4 separate regions of the Homo sapiens genome follow, and all the other regions are linked to region 1. The links are contacts of gene promoters, found by promoter capture Hi-C in human tissues and cell types (Jung and others, 2019). All regions are on one chromosome and are shown on one strand. Each heading gives the region's core, a stretch centred on a gene start or on the middle of the fragment in contact. The rest is flanking DNA. Distances are from core to core; before and after follow the strand shown.

Region 1 (5,476 bases), core at 2,003-4,502:
AAAATCCCCCAGTGGCACCACCCAATGGAACACACCAGCCCAACACTTCAAGGCCACCACCTACCCCTCCTCCTTCCTGTCCCCACACTTACCAGACACTAGGGGAAGGAAGGACTGTGGATGGGCCCGTTGGAGAGGTCCTCAGTTGGAGCTGTCTCTGGCAAAGGCAAAAGCAGCCCCAGCCACCTCCCAAGCTGCCAAGGGCCAGGCGTCGGGCCTAACACTCATGTCCTGCAGGGCTTTCCTGACCAGCGAGTCCTGGGGTACCAAACTGTAGACTTTCCTGAAGGATCACAGACACCAAGCATCACATGGGAGCCACCCTTTTCCAGTGTAGGGGTCTGGATGGAAACCCTCCAGCACACACCTGTGTATGCATGCTGCCCATATGGACCTTTAGGTTCTGCCCAGTGGGCTCCCTCCTGCCTTGATCTCTCCCCAAACTCCCAGAACTGGTTCTCCATCCATCAGTGCTCCTCTGTGCGACCCTACTCCTCCTTCCTCGGCCAGCACCACCTGTGGCCCCAGCCTCTCTCCTCTTTGCCAATGGCTCAGGGACCTGCTGGGTCTAGGGGAGCAGCCCTCTCCCACAGAAACCCTGGAGGTTGTGGGCTCACGGTAGGGCCCCAAGCAAAGGACTTCACCTGGGCCCCAAGGGCCAATGCTACTGGGGAGGCTCCCCAGGGTTCCCCAAGAGCTAGAATCAGGAAAAGGGAACACAGCAGCATGAACAAGGAAGGCTTGAAATGTGAAGTGGAAAGAAAAAACATCCCCATAAAATGCTCACAGAGAGAGCATTGTCCCTGGAAAGGGGAGGGTGCTGTGGTGGTGCTGGGAGTGGCATACCCTCGCCAGTGCTGCAGAGGAGAGAGGCCTCTGCGGAGGGAAACACCTGCGGCTCCTCTTCCCCCTCCCTCCAGCCCCAGTCATGCCTCTAAGTTACTTGTCTCTTGCCAAATAGGCTTCCCAGGGTGGTTTGACAAAGTTTGATATGAACTCAGGGAGGTGGCTAGCAAATACTATCAGCCTGAGACGGAGGTAAGGTCAGGTGGCCAGTCCTGTCTGCCCTCTCCGATGAGCACCCAGGTTAGGGTAGAGCTCTGGGGACCCACAATCTCTCTCAGACCTTTCAGCTCAGTCCCAGCCTGTCCCTGCCCATTAGACACATAAAGTCCAGATCCCCCTGAAACAGCTCCGTCCCTCTGGCTCTCCATGGGACAGCTCCTCTGCATTTTCACAAACAGGCACGCTCTGAGCAGGCAGCTGGGAACACAGACACCATGGGACAGTGCTGCCAGGCTGAGGAGAAGGCAGGGGGAGGGGAGCACCCAGCTGGCAGCTGTATAGAGGAGGCCAAACCAGCAGCTAGGCACTGTGGTTGAAGTGGCACTGCCTGGCTGAGAACCCCTGGCAATATTCAGTCATCCTAGATGTATGTGAATGCCTAGCACTTACCTGTGCCTTCCAGAAATTCTCCATTCATCCCCTTATTCCTACTCAATATGCCGAGGGTAGGAAAGCCAAGAATTACTGCTGAGGCCCAAGAGCCAGAGTGGGCAGCAGGTGACTTCACGCTCCCAACCCAAAGTTCAACCCATGTGCAGGCAAGCGTCTGATTGTGGCCAGTGGGAGAGGGCTAAATCCAACAGCTGGTCTAAATTTGCCAAAGTAAACTACCTATGCTAATCCACTGCCAGTCTCCATTGGCAGCAAGGACTGGCCTGGTGGTCAACTTGACAAGCTCTAGAAATACCAGCAGAATGTTGCAGGAAGTATATGGATATTGTTCGTTCTTGCAAGAAGGCCCGTACAAATTCAGGGTAATTTTATCATCACCAAATCTTTCAATCCTGTGATGACAATAGCGAAACTACAAGCAGCTCCAGGCCTTCTGCCTCAGGAGCTAACTCTGGTCTTTCAGATGCAGAATAAGGTTGCAAAGTAAAGTACAAACTTCTCCTTATGGCAACACCAAACAGGACCCAGTAACCTGGACAACTGTTTACCTCCTACCCTGGAGCACAAAGGAAATGACACAGCCCCTGGCTGAAACCAGAGGCAGTGTGGCTCAGGGATTATGTGAGCAGGCTCTGGAGTTAGGGTCTCAGCACCACGCAGTTCAGACAAGCAGCCTAACCACTCTGTGCCTTGGCTTCCTTCGCCAGGAAATGCGAGTGATGACTTTCTCTCACGGAGCTGTTGGGAGGCACAGATCCCAAACAACACCTGTAAAGCACTTAGCCCAGGACCCGGCCCTAGCAAGCAATTAGAAGCTGTCTGCCTTTATTTTAAGTCGCCCCTCCAGCTAATGGGAAACACAAGGGCAGGATCCCACCTGACGTCTTCTCTGTTAGAGCCCAACGAACAGCTAGGAGAGACCTTTGCCCCCACACTAAACAAAGGAGAGGGGCGTGTGAAGGGAAAAGGAGCCTCGGCTTCCGTTCATATCCCCCTTGAAGGCACAGCAGACTTGAGGATGACCTGAGAGGTGTCAAGGGAGGGTCAGTGGGTCCGCCACGCTGTCCACCCCTGCCCTTGAAGAGGACACCACCTGCCTGGGGCTGAATGACCAAGGCCCCTCCAGGGCCTCAGGTAGCTAGTCTTATCAGGTGCTGGAACCTTTGCGGATTTGGTTTCTTAGCAGAGCTCGCCTCACCCTTTCCGCCCCCGCCCTTCCCCCCAGTCCCCGAGTCCCCAGCCTCCCTCCTCAGGACTCCGCCAAGGCTGCAGGAAGTGGTCACCCAGGAACAGCCCGAGGGGTGGCCTCTGCCTTCCTGGCGTCAGGAGAGTCGGACGCTTGGCCCTTTCCCAGCCCGGCCTCGTATAGGGTCCGAGGAGCCCATAGCTGCACTCCTAGTTAGGTGGGAGGTCGGACTCCGCCGACAAATCCCAAAGAGAGGGGTGGGGAAGAAGGAGATACCAGCCCTGAAAGCGAAAAGCCGGAGAGGAAAGTCCTGAAAAGCCGCCAGGAATTCCCAAGGAGCGCAGGGCTGGAATGGAGGCGCTGCCCGGACCCTCTCCTCCCACCCAATCCCGCGTCGTCACCCCCTGCTTGGGGTCGGGGGCTCTGGGGTCTGCGTAGGCTGGGAGCCGTTCCGGAACCGGACACCTGGCGCGCACGTCCCGGGAAAGGCGGAGGGTGCATTGCCCCTCCTCACGCCCCCTGTCCCCTGTACCTGCGGCGGCGGCGTGTCTGGCGGGACCCAGCAGCGCGGGGCGTGTTCCGACCACTTAAAAGTTACAAAGTGAAACTCCGGCGCCTCCTGCACATGCGCAGAGCTGCGGCCACCCCTTTCCCAATTTGGAGTCTTGGCCCGCGGCGGCGCAAGCCTGTACGCAGCTGACTGCGCCTCCCGCGGTGGCCCTCGGCGGTCCTCTGCCCCGGCCTGGCCTCCTGGTCGCCGCTCAGCCCCGCAGCTCCTCCCGGAGGTCTGCAAGCCCCGGACCGGCCAGCTCACGTCCAGGCTCCAAGAAGGGATCCGCCGGGGCGCACCCTCTTCCGTCCCCCGGCACGAGCCCAGTCTCTGGACGCCTCCGGGAGAACTGGGCCAAGCACAGGGTGGTCGCGGCGCAGGGAGAGCATCTGCAAACGTTGGTCCCTGTAGTGCTTTGAATTTCCCCGAAGAGCTCTTAGACCCGCCCCGGGAGAGTGGGGTTGCGGGGGTGGTAGCATGGGGAGCTCAGCAGGATTCAGCCCGCACCTCGGCTCCGGGTAGTCGGGAACCGCGCGGAGCGCCCTGCAAGAGGCCACGGCTCCCCCGCCGCTGTAGAAGGCCGGACCGTGAAAGCCCGGAGGGTCTCCGTTCGGGCAAAAATGTGGGGGCGGGTCGCAGCATTTCCAACGCCCCCTGGGGCTAGTCCATTACTGCTCGAGCCAGGGCCGCCAAGGGCACCTACTCCAGCCCAGGTCCGAGAGCGCGGCATGCCTCCCGGCCGGGAGCCAAATGTTTCCAGGGAGCCGGTGGCCTCCACAACCGGACCGCAAGCTCGCGAGGGCAGGGCCGGCCCGCCGCGCCAGGGACTGCTGGGCGCTGCGCGGGAAGCGAGGCTGGGTTCGGGGAGGACCGCGCGCCCTGGGAATCAAGGAGCAAACCAACCCGTCCGCAGGCCCCTGTTTCCCTATCTGTGAAATGAGTGGTTGGACCAAAGCTTCCTCTCAGGTCCCTTCCAGCACCCCTCTCTGAGCTCTGAGCAGTCCTCACCCCACATGCATGCCTTTGCAGGTTCTCCGACCTCCCTTCCATTTCTGAGCTTTCATCTTTTTCTGTAACGGCATAAAAATATCCTCCTTATGGCCGGGCGCGGTGGCTCATGCCTGTAATACCAGCACTTTGGGAGGCCGAGGTGGGCGGATCACCTTAGGTCTGGAGTTCGAGACCAGCCTGACCCGCATGGAGAAACCCCGTCTCTACTAAAAATACAAAATTAGCCGGGTGTGGTGGCACATGCCTGTAATCCCAGCTACTAGGGAGTCTGAGGCAGGAGAATCGCTTGAACCTGGGAGGCGGAGGTTGCGGTGAGCTGAGATTTCACCATTGAACTCCAGCCTGGGCAACAAGAGCGAAACTCTGTCTCAAAAAAAAAAAAAAAAAAAAAAAAATTCCTCCTTACCTCCCTGTCCCTGATTCTAGCGCCAGTCTGTGGCTGTCCAGGAGTGGGGTGGGGAGGGTCTCTTCCTGCCTCTCTCAGTTCTTTTCTGTCCCATCTGTCTTTCCCCTTCTCTCCCCAAAGCTCTAGCCACTAGTTATTTTCCAGGGTTTTTCCTCTATGCCCCCCGCCAGTATCATCTCTGCCCTTGTCCCTCCATAGCTGCGCCTGGCCATCCCCCCTCCCTGCTCTCTTACCTCCACATCTGACGGTCTGCAGAGTCCTGGGTGTGGCCCCTGGACTCCCCGTTGGCTCCTTAGACTGTCCCTGTCCAATCTTTCTTCCACTCCCCACTCCCGCACCTGCCTGTCCTCCTTCCTTCCTCAATGAATGGTGCCCCCACCTGTCTGGTCTGTGCCATGGGTCCAGGCAAGTGCAAGGTTCCGGTCTTGGTAATTAGAATGCTGGAGCCACTGACAAAGATTTCAGAGAGAGAAAGGATTTCTAAATTTGTTCTTGAGTAGGTTAAGGTTATTTCAAAATCAAGAGAAGGCCTTGATGGATCGATATGTGAGTTGAGATAGCCACAGCCTTTGTTATGTCAGTTGTGTGAAGTGCTTGTAAAATCACTATTTTATTTTTTAATTTTTAATTAATTATTTACTTATTGAGACACAGTCTCACTCTGTCGCCCAGGCTGTAGTACAGTGGTGTGATCTCAGCTCACTGCAACCTCCACCTCCTGGCTTCAAGCGATTCTCCTGCCTCAGCCTCCCAAGTAGCTGGGATTATAGGCATGTGCCACCACACCCGGCTAATTTTGTACTTTTAGTAGAGACGGGGTTTCTCTATGTTGGTCAGGCTGGTCTCAAACTCCCAACCTCAGGTG
Region 2 (5,476 bases), core at 1,061-3,560, 500 kb before region 1:
GGGAGGCTGAGGTGGACAGATTGCTTGAGCTCAGGAGTTCGAGACCACTCTGAGCAACATGGTGAAACCCTGTCTCTACAAATAATACAAAAATTAGCTGAGTGTAGTGGTGAGCACCTGTAGTCCCAGTAACTTGCGAGGCTGAGACCCTGTCTAAAAAAAAAATTCATTTGAAGAGATATATAGAAAAGTATAGTCTACATGGTAAAGAAACTAAATTCTACTTCAATGAGTTCCTTATGTATTTAAGTTCTAATTTTTCAATTTGTACGTCTAACAAATTTTAACACTTTTAAAAGATATTTGAATGTTTGACCCCATTTATAAGCTTAAACATTTTCAAATATATTAATATTCATTATAAAGTTAATGTACTTCAATTTGTCTTCCAGACCTTCTCAAATCTTTGAGTAACTTTTATAAATCTAATAATCAAATAAATATGGTGAATCTTAAATTTTCTTGTTCCCTAATATTTTATATCAATCTAACAAGATTTCAACCTAAAATCATAAATCAGTTTCTCAATTATCTCTTTTAATTGGGGTCACAAGACTGACCCCAATCTAACACAAGGTATTACGAGGCCCAATTCTCTTAAACATTACAAATATTTAAGATACCAACATATTATAAGGAAATGCTTTTAATAAACATACTAGATATGCTTATTAATGTCCCTTTGGTCACTTTGAGAGGCTATAATTATCCCAGTCTTGCTGCCTTTGCTTATTAGAGACTTGTCTGTGGGACTTAATCCAAACATCTATCATATTCAATGTAATTTCCTTAGTGGTAGCAAATCTTTGCCCTCTGAAGGTAAGCTTGATTTTTGACACCTTTTGACCTTTTGAATTATTTGAAGCTACCTGGGTTGAATTCTAAGGAGAAAATCAACTTTACAGTCAAAACAGTGTGATGACAAAGTAAGGAGCCATGTGACCTCAGGCGATCTGTAAACTGGTTTGGAAGCAGCACTGTTGGACTAAATACTTCTTGGCAGCTTTAAGGTTATTGCTTACCTTGAAGGATAATATTCATTTGACTGTGAAACCTGGAGTGTTTGTTGAAAAATCAGTCCTGGCCGGGCGCGGTGGGCTCACGCCTGTGATGCCAGCACTTTGGGAGGCCGAGGCGGGTGGGTCACGAGGTCAGGAGTTCAAGATCAGCCTGGCCAAGATGGTGAAACCCCGTCTCTACTAAAAATACAAAAAATTAGCCAGCATGGTGGTGAGCACCTGTAATCCCAGCTACTCGGGAGGCTGAGGCAGAGAATTGCTTGAACCCGGGAGGGGGAGGTTGCAGTGAGCCAAGATAGCAACACTGCACTCCAGCTGGGGTGACAGTGCAAAACTCCGTCCCAAAAAAAAAAAAAGAAAAGAAAAAGAAAAATCAGTCCCGGCTAGTAAATAGAGCAGCAGAACTCAAAAGAGATGTGCCCCATTTCCTACTCATCCACTAACTGTCTAAGGAGGTCCTCCCACCTCCCGGGGCCCTGGTTTCATCATCTTTAAAAGGATTCCAAAGAGCTCTTCCAGCTCTAGTGTTTAGTGGTTTTGCATAGTATCGCAGCCTCACCTAGGCCTGGACACGCGCTCCTCCTGTCACCACCCGCGGAGTGTGTGATTAAGAAGCCCTTCGTGTCAACACAGGAATGAGGCAAGCAGTGGAATGTTCCATGCGGCTGCTTCAGCGTGCTCTGTTTAGTTGCCTCCTCTTTTTCATTGTCTTGCAGATGCATGCAGATGATTATTTTACAAAGAAATCCTAAAAAAGCTTTTATAATACATATTTCCTTGCAAATGTCTAAAGTACATTGGACAGTTTCTCATCTACAAAATGAAATGAATTCCATGGTCTCTGTAAGATCATCCATAGCATAATTTTGTGGTTCTGTGAAGATACATTTATCTTCAGACGGAACTTAAGCAGAGGACCCTCTAACATTAGATAGATCTGTAGCTTGTTTTTCTCTTGATTTCTTTTATTTTATTTTCCTTTCCTTTTCTTTTTTTAAATTTTTTTTTTGAGATAGAGTCTCGCTCTGTCACCCAGGCTGGAGTGCAGTGGCATAATCTTGGCTCACTGCAACCTCTGCCTCCCGGGTTCAAGTGATTCTCGTGCCTCAGCCTCCTGAGTAGCTCAGACTACAGGCGCCCACCATGCCTGGCTAACTTTTGTATTTTTAGTAGAGACAGGGTTTTACCATGTTGGCCAGGCTGGTCTCAAACTCCTGACCTCAAGTGATCTGTCTGCCTCGGCCTCCCAAATTGCAGGGATTACAGGCATGAGCCACTGTGCCCAGCCAATTTTTATTTTTTTAATTGACATAATAATTGTACATATTTCTGAGGTACATAGTAATGTTTCAATACATACAATGTATAGTGATCAGATCAGGGCAATTCATATGTCCATCATCTCAAACATTTATCCTTTGTGTTGGGAACTTTCAGTATCCTCTCTTCTAGCTATTTGAAGATGTATAATCTATTTTTGTTACCTATACTCATCCTACAGTGGTATAGAACACTAAACATATTCCTCCTGTCTACCAGTAATCTTGAATCCTTTAACAAATCTCTCCCCATCTCCCCACTTCCTGTTCTGTGTCTCATTCTTCTCTTGGTTTTTTTTGCAGACCTGAGCAGAGTAAGGATGAACTGGTGATGGAAATTCTATCCGACTTGCTAAAGCGGCTGCCACTGACAGTGGAGAAAGAAGAAATTGCTGTTGGAACTCCAAGCACATTGAAGAGCATGATGTCAAGCTCCATTTGGGAGTCTCTTTCTAAAAATCTCAAAGGTGAGCATGGGACAGGAGCTTTTTCCCCTTACCTCACTCTCCTCAAGAAAGGACTCTGGTGTCAGGAGTAAGGTAAAGATAAGACAAAAATTCTGTAGAAGTGAAAATACTGAGATAAGATGGAAAACTCAGTCTCTGCCTCCTCTCTCCAAGTTGAAAGACAGAGAGCACAGAAGAAAATCACGCTTTAGTTTGGGGGTGGGTAGCGTGTGGCACTGAAATCAAAAGTGAAGAAATAACAAGTGTAGCAAACTAGAAAGCAGCAACTCTGCTTTGGAGATTGTCAAGAGTTCTAGGTGCCTGTTCTCTCTGCCTCTCTGCCTTCTGGAACAGCGGAAGTTTAGATGGACCTTCTGCTGAAAGACCACTTGACTCCAAGAAGCTAAGGGGAATCAGGGCAGGCCCAGGAAGACAGAGGAAGCCTGATTGCCCAGAGATGACTCCAAACCCAGCTCTAAGTGGCTAAATTGCTAGACTATGATAATTTTCCCAGTTAAATTTTAATACCCATATTTTATCCCTTTGCAGAAGTTTATTTGGGAACCAAATATTGAGCAATAGTTTATCAAAACAGTGTCATTGTTGAGTCTCAATCAAAGGTCAGCAAATTAGGGCTCGCAGGCCAAATCCAGCCCACCATTTGTTTTTGTACAGCCTGTGAACTAAAATGGCTTTTGCATTTTTTAATGGTTAAAAAAAATCAAAAGAAGGAATATAGTTTGTGACACATAAATGTTATATGAAACTCCAATTTGAGTGCCATAAGTAAAGCTTTACTGGAACACAGCCACACTTACTCATGACATATTGTCTATGCATCCACACATAGTAGATAGTGTGGCCGCACCCACACTACAAGGGGAGAGCTGAGTAGCTTTCACAGAGGTGGTGTGGTCCCCATACCCTAAAATGTTTGCTATCTGACCTTCTACAGAAAATGTTTATCAACCCCTGGTCAAGACACACAAAATTCCCTTAACTTTCAAAGCCTAAGTCCCTCCATGTAAAGCCTCTTTTTAATCTGTAAAATATCAAAATTTTATTTCTTTTTAAAATCCAGATCACGACCCCCTTATCCATTGTGTCTTGCTAACCTTTTTGAAGCAAGAAATTAAACGATTTGATAAGTTATTATTTGTCATACATAAATCCTTAAAAGATCTTCAGCTTGCTATAAAAGGAGAGATCATCCTCACCCAAGAATTGGAGGAAATATTTAACTCTTTTCTTAATATGAGAGTGCCTACATTGTGGCAGGTAAGCAATTATTATTATTTCCTATTTTCTTGCTTGCTTGAAATAAATGTCCAAGTTCAAGGGAATGGTGAAGGTAAATGGTGCATCTGTGTGATGAAATATGTAACTCTTAAAAGATGCTGACGTACTTTTTCATATTTTCACATCTCTGAAGTTGGAATGCCTCTTAACAGTCACTGTTAGCCAGGCAGCACCATCACTTAGTTCTCACTATCTGTGTATGTGAACTATGTATCATGGCAGTTCATGTCAAAGTAGGTGCACTCTTGGTATTACTATAAGTGTTGAGTTTAATTGCTTTTAAAATAAAAACAAAGCTAAACAAGATGATGAAGAAATTACTGGGTCATGGTCTTAAACAGAAGACCAAATTGTAAAAACACAAAATGTATTAGACCAGGAATAAAATAAGCCATGGAAGATCTGGCAGCACAGAGTAGGAAATTAACAAGCTTGATGTTGGACACAAACACTATTTCTCCAGAAATGAACTTCTCCCCTTAGGATTAGCACTGGCCTTTTCCAGAACCCTGAATCCTATACCAGATTGAAAACCTGTGTAGACATGTGAAAAGATGTTCAACAGCATTTGCTTTGAGGGAAATGCAAATCAAAACCACAATGAGATACAACTTCACACCTACTAAGATGGAAAGAATTAAAAATACATAAAAACAAGCATTGGGAGAAATTGGAACCCAAATGCACCACTCATGGGAATGAAAAATGGTGCAGCTACTTTGGAAATAGTCCAGTAGTTCCTCAAAAAGTTAAACAGATTTACCATTTGACCCAGCAATTTCACTCCTAGGAATATATCCAACAGAAATTAAAGCATAAATCCAGGCCGGGCACAGGGCCTCATGCTTGTAATCTCAGCACTTTTGGAGGCCAAGGTGGCGGATCACCTGAGGTTAGGAGTTTGAGACCAGCCTGGCAAACATGGTGAAACCCCGTCTCTACTAAAAATAATAATAATAATAAAATGGCCAGGCATGGTGGTGGGTACCTGAAATCCCAGCTACTTGTGAGGCTAAGGGAGGAGAATTGCTTGAACCCAGAAGGCAGAGGTTGCAGTGAACTGAGATCATGCCATTGCACTCCAGCCTGGGCAACAGAGGGACACTCTGTCTCAAAAAAAAAAAAAGTCCACCCAAAAACTTGCACATGAATGTTCATGGCAGCATTATTTGTAATACCCAAAAGGTGAAAACAACTCAAATGTCCATTGACTGATGAATGGATAAAATATGGTATGTCCCTGTAATGAAATATTATTCAGCCAGCAAAATGAATGAAGTACTGATACAGGCTATCACATGGATAAACCTTGAAAACAGTAGTTCTTCTGTGCTAAGTGTAGGAAGGCCATCACAAAAGACCATATATTGTATGATTCCATTTACAAGAAATG
Region 3 (5,476 bases), core at 1,738-4,237, 300 kb before region 1:
CCACTATCACCAGTAGACCAAATTAGAAACTTATCTCCTTTGCCATTCCATTAAAAAAAGAAAGAAAAAATCTTGCTAAGAATCAGGAGAAAAAATTTGCTTGCTAGTTACAATTCGGTTCTGCCACAATGGCTGAGAGATTGAGGAATACAACAAAAACACTGTGAATGCCACTGACAAACAGCAGATGCAAATAACGGCAGCCTACAAAGTTATTTTCTGCAAGGCAAGAAAACCATCTGGAATGCAGCAGCACCAAATATGCAGAAAGGCAAAACTTCCTCTAAAGACCACACTTATGTTTCATTCATCTTTCTGAGAAATAGAATAATAAATAAAAGGTAAAAACATCAATATGGCACTATTAAACTCTTTGTCCTACAACACCTATATTCATGTGCAAAGTACAAATGCAGTCTAGTATAACTGATCCAGATTCACCAAAGAAAATGGTCAGTCTAAATGACCATCAAAAGCAAGATGGCATGATTTAAAAGAAAACATTTCAGCAAATCTATTGGGTCATTCTGCAGGATGAAAAAATCTCTTAAAATAGGGGAAAACGTTAAAGGTTAAATACAATAGTATGTAGAAAAAGTACTTTAGAGAATGTACCTACCACATGTAGTCATGTGTGCTTAGGAGTAATCTTTTTTTCAATAGGGAGTAATCTTTTTAGGGAGTAATCTTTTCTCAATAATTCTTATGGTACTATTTGACTTCAATCATGAATTCCTCTTACTTAAGTATAGAATCTGCAAAATTCAATAAATGTGACTCAGGCGGTAAAAAGAACCTGTCCCTATCTGCAACATACCTGGAGACAGAGAATAATAAAGACAATTAGAATGCACAATTTCCATATTCTTAGAACCATAAGAGAGACAGAGAAACTTGTAAAACTTACAAAAGCTCTGGAGACCGAAAAAAATAAAAAGAAACATTAACAGGCTGGATACAGTGGCTCTAACCTGCAATCCCAGCACTCTGAGAAGCCAAGGCAGGAAGATCACTTGAGCCCAGGAGTTAGAGATCAGCCTGGACAAAACAAAGTGAGACTCTGTCTCCACAAGATATGAAAAATAAAATAAATTAGCCAGGCACAATGGTGTGCACCTGTAGTCCCACCTACTTGGGAGGCTGAGGTAGAAGGACCACTTCAGCCCAGGAGTGCAAGGTTACAGTGAGCTATTACTGAGCCACTGCATTCCAGCTTGGGCGACAGAGCGAGACACTCTCTCTTAAAAAAGGAAGAAAAGAAAGAAATATTAACAAACTAGTAAGACTGAGATTATCTAGGGTGGGAACCTGCTCTGTGTGTGCAACTCTAGCTGGCCACATAATGACAAAGACAGCCTGCTGCTAAGCAGCACAGAAAAAATTCAAGCAATGCTCTTTCTTGTAATATGAAAGACTAATTAACAAAGATAAAGCAAACGTTACTTGGAAAAATTAAAACCAACAGTTTCAGAAGAATGCACTCTACAACTGTCTATAAATATTTCAGAGTATTGTTTAACTGTAGGCACAAAAAATCCTATCAATGAGGAAAAATCTTATCAGTGAATTACTATCTAATAGAGACTAACAGCTCCCCAGTTAGTCAGTTATAAAGAATCCAAATCTCTTGGTTTATGTTATGAAAGACCTAAATCCCAGAGACAATTAAGTGACATAAGCAGTTACTGAGCCAGTGTTGATACTAATAATACTACTAATAATAGTAAAAAATAAGGATATGTATATAGTACTTACTAAGTGCCATATATGGTTCTATGTGCTTTGCCTTTATTAATTCGCTTATTTCTTCAACAACCTTATGTGGTAGGTACCGTTAATATCCCCATTTTACAGATAGGAAATGGAGACACAAGAAGTGAATTAACTTGACTAAAGACATACTGTAGGGAGAGGCAGAAATGGGACTTAAAGCAGCCAGTCTGCTTCCAGGTCTGGACTTGCAACCACTCTACTAAAAAAAGAAAGATTCTGACTATAAACTATATTAGTTCCACAAAATTACCTCTTCACATATTTTCTATTATTTCCACATTATACTTCATGTTATATTTAATTTGAAGCTAAGAGGAAAGAATTTATTTGCTGAAATTTATGTTCTTTTTAGAAATAACCAAGGTTTATTTTAAAGGTTTCATTACTGAAGATACAATGTTAACCTATAACAAAAACATGTCTAGAATATCAGATTTTTTTAAGGCAGTAGGAAGAAACTTATTCATAAAATTAATACTCCAGGGAAAGTTTCCTTCAAATAGAATCTCAACTTTCTTCAAAGAATTACATGAAAGACAAAATCTGTGGGAAACATTTTAGACATCAAACTATAGATACAGATAGAGATTCACACAGACATGCACACAGAAACATGAAGAATAGAATAGCAGCTATCGTTCCATTATTTTATTTAAACTACTCCAACTTTGTTACTACACAATGTATGAGTTTAGCACATTACAGGACGCACATGAACTTTGAAATCTATTAGCCAATTAGAAGAATATGTCTTTACATCTTTCAAAAAGAATAGGTAAAAAGAAATAATATATTTTCAGTTATAAATATTTTCATCCAAGTCAGTGTAGAAAAATATTGACTAGAAAATTAAGATAAAACTTCAACCTAAAACTACAGAAAAAGAACCTTTCAATGTTTAAAGTTTTGTTATGTTCCTTTATTTGAGATGCTTTGCTGTTCTTCCTATGTAAGACATCACATAGCTTCCTAGTGGTAAACTTTGCTTTTAAAATTTCTCACCCTACTGTGTGATTCTGGTTCCTACTCTAAGTATACACTGTAAGAAATAAAAATTTATTATACCTTCTTCTTCTTCCCCACACCCTCAACTCATCAACAACAAAAAAATAGCTATTAATAATCTCCACACCTCCTAGTATTCATGCCCAGAGACTTACCTCTACTGAACAGAATATGGGAAAAAAAATACATATATATATATATGGAATGTCACTTCCAAGGTTAATTTACGAAGTGACTCTGGCTTCCATCTAGCTTGCCACCACCTTATGGAGAGGCCCACACGAGACAATTATCAGGAATAAAATGAGGCCCTCAGTCTAACAGCTGGCATGCAACTAAATCCAATCCATTAATGTGAATGAGCTTAGAAGCAGATCCTCCTCCCCCCGTGATGACTTCAGTTGAGACTGCAGCCCTGGCCAACATTTTGACTGCATTTATGAAAGACCCTGAGCTAGAGGAACCACCTAAGCCAAACCCAGAATCCTGACCCTCAGAAACTGTGTAATAAATACGTGACGTTTTAAGCCACTAAAACTTTGTGTAATTTATTGTGTGGCTATAAGTAACACACTACCCCTTCACTCCCTCGTGCCTGACCCCAAGACCTTAAACTACTTAAGATTGGGCCGGGTGCAATTCACGCCTGTAATCCCAGCACTTTGGGAGGCCAAGGTGGGTGGATCATTTGAGATCAGGACTTCGAGAACAGCCTGGCCAACATGGTGAAACCCTGTCTCTATTAAAAATACAAAAATTAGCCAGCCATGGTGTCTCGTGCCGTAATCCCAGCTACTTGGGAGGCTGAAGCCTGGGAGGGTGGAAGTTGCAGTGAGCCGAGATCGCATCACTGTACTCCAGCCTGGGCAACAGGGCGAGACTCTGTCTCAAGAAAAAAACCAAAAAAAAAAAAAAAAAAAGCCAAGATTACCTCAGATTTCATAAGCTCCGTGACTTTTAGCACACATATAGGCACACAGGGCTCAGATTCTTCGTCTGGCCACCCATCTTTTTTTAACTGGACTTGTAATTTTCAAAGATCAATTCCCAGTGCACCAGCAAACCTAAACCGTCATTCACAGCATGAGAGTTCACAAAAAGTACAGACATCTAGAAATGGTCACAGAAAAAAAAGAAAAATGTGGGAAAACACTTCACTTGGCAACACATACTTCCCTATCTTAATAAATTCTCCCATTAATAAGAAACTTTTCTCAGTAACTGAATAGATTATTTCACCTGTTTCCTGTAGTTCTTCTTTTCCTCACATTATTTTCATGAAGTTATATGGCAAAGCCTCTCAAAATACTTTCCAAGCACCGTAGAGTTAAAAATATCAAGTGTGGCTAATTTTAGCTATAAAGGCACCAGGCAGAGCCAAGTTAGACAGACGTGGAAATAAAAACGGGATGAAAGATGGAGTGGGAGTGGAGGGTGGAGGGTGAGCCACACTGACTTCTTATATTTTTATTTTGCAAGGTTATTAATTTCAATGAATGAATAGTGTCAGCAAAAGACAAGTACCATATGAGATCAAGAAAGAAAAACTAAAGCAGAATACTATAGAATCTCAATCTATTTTTCTCAAAATGTAAGCAGGGAGGGTTCTGCTTCTGGCCAAGTAATGGCCAACTTTCCAAATGACCCTCCCATAGATAAAACTATAAACTCTGGATTAAAATTAAAAAGAATTTTTTTCTGAGACAGGGTTTCACTCCGTCACCCAGGCTGGAGTGCAGTGGTGCTCACTGCATCCTCTACCTCCCAGGCCCAAGCAATCCTCCTACCTCAGCCTCCCAAGTAGCTGGGACAAACCACAGGCACGCACCACCACACCCAGCTAATTTTTTTTTTTTTTTTTAATTTTTGGTAGAGATGGGATCTCCCTATCTTGCCAAGGCTGGTCTCTAACTCCTGAGCTCAAGCAATCCTCATCTCTGGATAAAATTTATAGAACAACTATATGAAATGTATGGTTTGGATCTGTGTCCCTGCCCAAATGTCATGTCACTGTAATCCCCAATGTTGGGGGTGGGGCCTGGTGCAAGGTGACAGGATAATGAGGGTCGTCCTTTCTGAATGGTTTAGCAACATCCCCTTGGTGCTATTCCTTTGATAGTAAGTTCTCATGAGATCTGGTTGTCTTCCCCCCCTCTCTCTCTCTTGCTCCTGCTCCAGCCACAGGAAGTGCCAGCTCCCCCTTTGCCTTCCGCCATGACTGTAAGTTTCCTGAGGCCTCCCCGGAAGCCAGCATCATGATTCTTGTAAAGCCTATGGAACCGTAAGCCAATTAAACTTCTGTTCTTTATACATTACCCAAGCTCAGGTATTTATTTATAGCAGTGAAAAGAACGGACTAATGCAGGAAGGCACTGGAGAATGAGAAGAAGGGAGTCAACTCTTTTAAGAAAGGAATAATACGGGGAGAGTTCTCTGATGTTTACAGCTTTTAGCCTGACAACTGGTCCTGGTCTGTGCTACATGGGAGAGCTAAAACTCCAACAGAAACCCCCACAGACTTTCTAGCTTAAAGATAAAAGGATAGAGTTCAGGGCAATCCATAGCTGCTGCAAAATGAGAGGAAATTCCTGGGAGGAAAATGAGCCAGTGGGCAGGAAGGAACCCCAAATTCTGTATATAAACTCTGCCTAAATCTCTGGATGATCCCTGATCTACTCATGTGTAGGGCAGTTTCCAA
Region 4 (5,476 bases), core at 1,595-4,094, 270 kb before region 1:
CCCGGGAGGCGGAGGTTGCAGTGAGCAGAGATCACACCATTGCACTCCATCCTGGGCGACAGAGCGAGACTCTGTCTCAAAAAAAAAAAAAAAAAAAAAAAAAAGGAGGGGGGTCTTGGAATCAAAATGACATCAGACTTTTCAGAGCAACTCTAGAAACAAGTCACTTGAGTAATGCCTTCAAAATTTTGAAGAAAAATAATTTCCAACCTTGACTTGTAAATACAGCCAAGTTATCTATCAAGAGTAGGCTCTAATAGATATTCTTAAATATTCTAAGTCTCAAAGAATTTGCTTCCCATGCTTTATTTCTAAGGGAGCTACAATGAAAAGCAACAGAATAAGGCTGAAAGAATTCCCATGAAAATGGTAAAAATCCCACTCCAGGAAGCAAGCCAAGAAGGCAATCAGTTCAACTGGAACACAAAGTTAGAGGTATCCAAAATAAAAAAAAAAGAAACTGAAAGATTACCTGATGTGTTTATTATATTAAAAGGAGAGTTAAACTTTAGTAGTATAGTCTGAGCTGAGTAAGTGATGAATGCATGGAAAACAAATAAACACAAAGATTCATTAAATCCAGCTAAAACAAAAAGCTGTTTCAAAAAAAAAAAGTAACCATATTAAAATAGTACACAGCATGGCTCCAATGTGAATAGTTATATAAACTTTGATTAACCAAAATTGGTTATATAACCATATAGAGAAGATGGAAAGTATGCATCGTGGGGAGGAGAATGTAAAACAGCTAAACCACTATCTTCCATCATGGCAAGTCAAAAGATAAATCTAAAATTGAAACAGTCAAAAAAGGTTAGTTTAAACACGTTATCTGGAAATTAAAAACTACCAAAGAAATATGTCAGTTGATAGTGGTTCCTCTTGAGAGCTGGATTCTAGCAGGAAAGGGAAAAATGGATTTTTTTTTTTTTTTTTTTTTTTTTTTTGAGATGGAGTCTCTCTGTCGCCCAGGCTGGAATGCAGTGGCACGATCTTGGCTCACTGCAACATCCACCTCTCAGGTTCAAGTGGTTCTCATGCCCAGCCTCCTGAGTATCTGGGAGCACAGGCATGCGCCACCATCCCCAGCTAATTTTTTATATTTTTAGTAGAGACAGCGTTTTGCTATGTTGGCCAGGCTGGTCTGAACTCCTGGCCTCAAGTGATCCGCCTGCCTCAGCCTCCCAAAGTGCTGGGATTACAGGCATGAGCCACCGCGCCCGGCCTACTTTTTTTATTAGCCTTGTAAAACTACATGACTATATAAATTATTAATATGTACATGTATACCACATGATAAAAATTAAATTTTTAAATCATGCTCTAATTTTTTAAAACCATGCTTTAGAATAATATTTAATTACAGAGGAAAGTATTCACAGTATATTTAGGGGAAATCACATTATAGAACATTATGTTCAATAAAAAAAAAAAACTAGCATTGCCTAAAAACAAACAGGAAGTGTATGTACTAACGTGATTTTCTCTCAAGTAGTGACATTATTTTGATTTTCTTATGTAACTTTCAAATGTTTTATAATATGTACGCATTATTTTGTAATTTTAAAAGAAAATAAGAAAAGATAGAGAAGTTTACTAGAGCTCAAAGATCAAACAATTAAAACAATATTGCTTTCTGTTCCAGTTAGTCTCTAGGACCTACTGTGGGGTTATAATAAATTTGTGATTTTATAATTACTATAAAAATATTGGGGGATACTCTTAACATTTGGTAAGAAAAGAACGATAGGTCCCCAGTAAAAAAAATTCTTTTTTTTCCCAAGTATGCTTGCATTTCATTCATCTTAAACTTCATACCAAGATTATGTGACTCAAGAGAGCTGACTTCCAATTTTAAAACTCTGGATGAAGGGGTCACAATCCAAACTTAAAACTAACCAAATAAATGAACAAAAGAAAACCACTTACAACTTCTCCATGCCTAAACAGAACTAAAATTAAAAGAAAAAAAAGAAACAGCCAACAAAGTAGAGGAATTATTTACACCAATGGCGACATTTTAACGCTAGTACGATCAACCACTCCAAAAGCTGTATTTGGCCCACATACACGCTCAAGAAAAAACAAATAGCAGAATATTCACGACATTATAAGATCCAAAAACTGCAACCAATCCAAATGTCCATCAACCTTAGAATGAATAAACTAGTATTTCACACAATAGAATAAAATGAATGATACAGATGAACGGCACAGATCTAACGTTAGGCCGAAAAAGGCAGATACAGAATATGTTCTATGTGATTCTATTCACATGAGTACAAAAGCAGGCAAAACTAATTGACGCTGTTCTGGGTCAGGTGGGGTTACTCTTTGGTGAAAGACTGTGACTAGAAGAGGGCATAAAGTGATGGTTACACATGTGTACTGAGTTGGTGCTATGTGCCCTTTTCTGTACATCTTATATTTCAATAAAAATTTCAAGTTGAAAAAAGATAATAGTCCCTGTAATCCCAGCACTTTGGGAGCCAAAGGTGGAAGGACTGTATGAGCCTGGGAGTTCTAGACCAGCCTGGGCAACCTTGTCTCTACCAAAAAAAAAAATTTATTTATTTATTTACGTATTTATTTATTTATTGAGACAGAGTCTTGCTCTGTTGCCCAGGCTGGGGTGCAGTGGCGCGATCTCTGGTCACTGCAACCTCTGCCTCCCAGATTCAAGTGATTCTCCTCCCTCAGCCTCCTGAGTAGCTGGGACTACAAGCGTGCATCACCACGCCCAGCTAATTTTTATATATTTTGTAGAGATGAGGTTTCACTATGTTGGCCAGGCTGGTCTTGAACTACTGACCTCGGGTGATCCACCTGCCTCGAGCCTCCCAAAGTGCTGGGATTACAGGCATGAGCTACCTTGCCCAGACAAAAAAAAAATTTTTTAATTAGCCAGGTGTGGTGGCCCACATCTTTGGTCCTGGCTACTCAGGAGGCTGAGGTGGGAGGATCAGCTGAGCCCAGGAGGTCAAGGCTGCAGTGAGCTGTGTTCACACCACTGCACTCCAGCACAGGTGACAGAGTGAGAAAAAGATAATACTCAACGGCCAACAAGCACATGAAGAGATGCTGAACATTTTTAGTCATTAGGGAAATGAAAATAAAAAACCACAATGAAATCAAAAATCACACTCACTAGGATGGCTATCATAAAAAACAAAACACAAAAAATTTAAAAATAATGTATTCGTGAGGATATGGAGAAATTAAAACCCTCATCCACTGCTGGTGAGAATGTGAAATCACACAGCCAACGGGGAAACCAGTTTGGCCAGTCCTCAATGAGCTAAATGGAAAATTACCTATCATGTAACCCGGCCAATTCCACTCCTAGATATATGTCCGAAAAAACTGAAAACAGGTATTCAAATACTTATACATAAATCTTCATAGCAGCTCTATTCACAAGAGCTAAATGGTGGAAATGACCCAATGTCCATCAAGAGATGAATAAATAATCAAAATGTGGTATATCCAAACGATGGAATATTAGCCATAAAAAGGGAAGACGTACTGACACTGCTATGACACGGATGAACCCTGAAAACTTTATGCTTAGTCACAGAAGCCAGACACAAAAAGCCATGTACTATATAATTCCATTTACATGGAATGTCCAGAATAGGCAAATCCATGGAGACAGAAAGCAGATTCATGGCTGCCAGGGGTTGATGGGGAACAGGGATTGGGAAATGATTGCTTGGTGGGTACAAGGTTTTCCACTTAGGGTGATGAAAAAGTTCTGGAAGTAGATAGTGGCAATGGTTGCACAACACTGTGGATTTATTTAATGCCACAGAATTGTACACTTTTAAATGGTTACCATGGTAAATTTTATGTTATCTGCATTTTCCCACAGCAAAAAAAATTTTCAAAACAAAAATAATACTTAATGCTGGCCAGGATACAGTAAACACTCTCTACACTTTGGTAATTGGAACATAAACTAAAGCTTTTGCCAAATATTCTGGCAATAAATACTAAATAATTCATATCTTTGCCCCAGTTTATATTTTGCCTTCTGAGGACCAACCGTAAGAAGCAAAAAAGTTTTATATCCAAAGTGCTCACTGTAATACTTACAATAATGCAAAAAAAAGGGGGGGAGGAGGGATCTAAATGCCAAACTATTGGGGAATGGGTAAGTCAACCACGATACATTTACAAAATTAATTGTGTCAACACTAAAAATGTTTACTAAGGTATGAAATGAAGAATGTTTATATTATGAAGCAAATATTAAAACAGCAGAATACAAATTCTAAAAATACAAGCCAAAGTATACATCTACAAAGACTCAGTATGTGTCCTATGGTTTTGCTACGGACACTATTTTCTTCCTACTTTCTGTCCCTTGAACAAAGCAAGCTCATTTTCATTGCAAGGCCTTTGGACCTCTTCTGCTTAGAGTACTCTTTTCCCTGCTCTCCAATGACTGCCTCCTCATCTTTCAGAGCAACTCAAACGTCCCTCCCTAAGAAGCCTTCCGTGACCACCCCAACCAAGTTAGGCCTTGCCTTCACCACCCATCTTTTCTCACTACACATTTTATCTTTTTCACACTTACTGAGAATAACAGACTTATTGGTACATCCTTCTCCTCCATTCAGCTACCAGAATGTAAGCCCCCTGGGTACATGACTTGTTTAACACCATTTCCCCAGGGCAGAGAACAGTGCCTGGTGGTAATAATAAATATTTGTGAAGATAATAAATATTTGTTGATTAACTTGTTCCTTCTACTTTTTCAGTTTGTCAATTTTATGTGTAATAAGCACATATTTTATTTTTAACACTATTTTTAAATATACAACTAGATCAACAAACAACACTTATTGAACCAAAGAAAATGTGTAACTTTGCTAGATATTTTCTGAGAACAAAGCAAAGGTCTGGTTCAGCCATAACAACAAAAATAACTAATTATAAACTCTTCCTAATAAGGGATAATGCTCTACTACACCTTATAGCATATTTTATTATTAAAGATGGGGAAAAAAACAGTGTTTTTTCTACTCTCACACAACACACTCCTGACACCAGATTCTCTGGCAGACACTAAGTGAGTTATGATTTAACTCAATTCTGACACTATGTGGAAATAACATCACATCCCATAGGTTAAGGGATCAGTCCCAGAAGACCACCCCAACTTCTAATGCCAATCTCATGCCCCAGGTTGTGACCTGTGCTTCTGGCCCAATAGCTCTAAATCAGGGTTCCCATAAGCTCTCCCCAGAGTTTAATTTGCTAGAGCAGCTCACAGAACTCAGGAAAACACTTTACTTATGTTTACCCATTTATTAGAAAGATTTTTTTTTTTTTTTGAGATGGAGTCTCATTCTGTCGCCCAGGCTGGAGTGCAATGGCACAATCTCGGCTCACTGCAACCTCCACCTACTGGGTTCAAGTGATTCTCCTGCCTCAGCCTCCTAAGTAGCTGGGATTACAGGCGCCCACCACC

What was found. Contacts are between HindIII fragments. The study calls those that stand out against the background at their distance.
Region 2: a fragment that was not itself captured here is called in contact with the fragment with the promoter of TMEM63A in region 1 in 2 of the 25 tissues and cell types used here (mesendoderm cells and spleen).
Region 3: a fragment that was not itself captured here is called in contact with the fragment with the promoter of TMEM63A in region 1 in 2 of the 25 tissues and cell types used here (adrenal gland and mesenchymal stem cells).
Region 4: a fragment that was not itself captured here is called in contact with the fragment with the promoter of TMEM63A in region 1 in 1 of the 25 tissues and cell types used here (IMR-90 fibroblasts).

Annotation. Positions count from the first base shown.
Region 1 is chr1:225,879,128-225,884,603 of GRCh38, forward strand. TMEM63A (transmembrane protein 63A) reads right to left here and starts at 3,253. Exons shown (of 25, transcript NM_014698.3): 1 at 3,177-3,253; 2 at 93-283. RefSeq lists enhancers at 859-1,809, 4,012-4,061, 4,122-4,171 and silencers at 2,662-2,781, 3,342-3,501. The HindIII fragment of the contact is 9,047 bases long and covers 1-4,851 here.
Region 2 is chr1:225,377,518-225,382,993 of GRCh38, forward strand. DNAH14 (dynein axonemal heavy chain 14) reads left to right here. Exons shown (of 86, transcript NM_001367479.1): 80 at 2,642-2,805; 81 at 3,866-4,062. Among named protein-coding and RNA genes, the nearest start is that of LBR, 48 kb to the right of the region's middle. The HindIII fragment of the contact is 3,469 bases long and covers 577-4,045 here.
Region 3 is chr1:225,577,234-225,582,709 of GRCh38, forward strand. The region is part of intron 1 of ENAH (ENAH actin regulator); the gene reads right to left. Among named protein-coding and RNA genes, the nearest start is that of ENAH, 73 kb to the right of the region's middle. The HindIII fragment of the contact is 7,894 bases long and covers 1-5,476 here.
Region 4 is chr1:225,608,738-225,614,213 of GRCh38, forward strand. The region is part of intron 1 of ENAH (ENAH actin regulator); the gene reads right to left. Among named protein-coding and RNA genes, the nearest start is that of ENAH, 42 kb to the right of the region's middle. The HindIII fragment of the contact is 7,233 bases long and covers 1-5,476 here.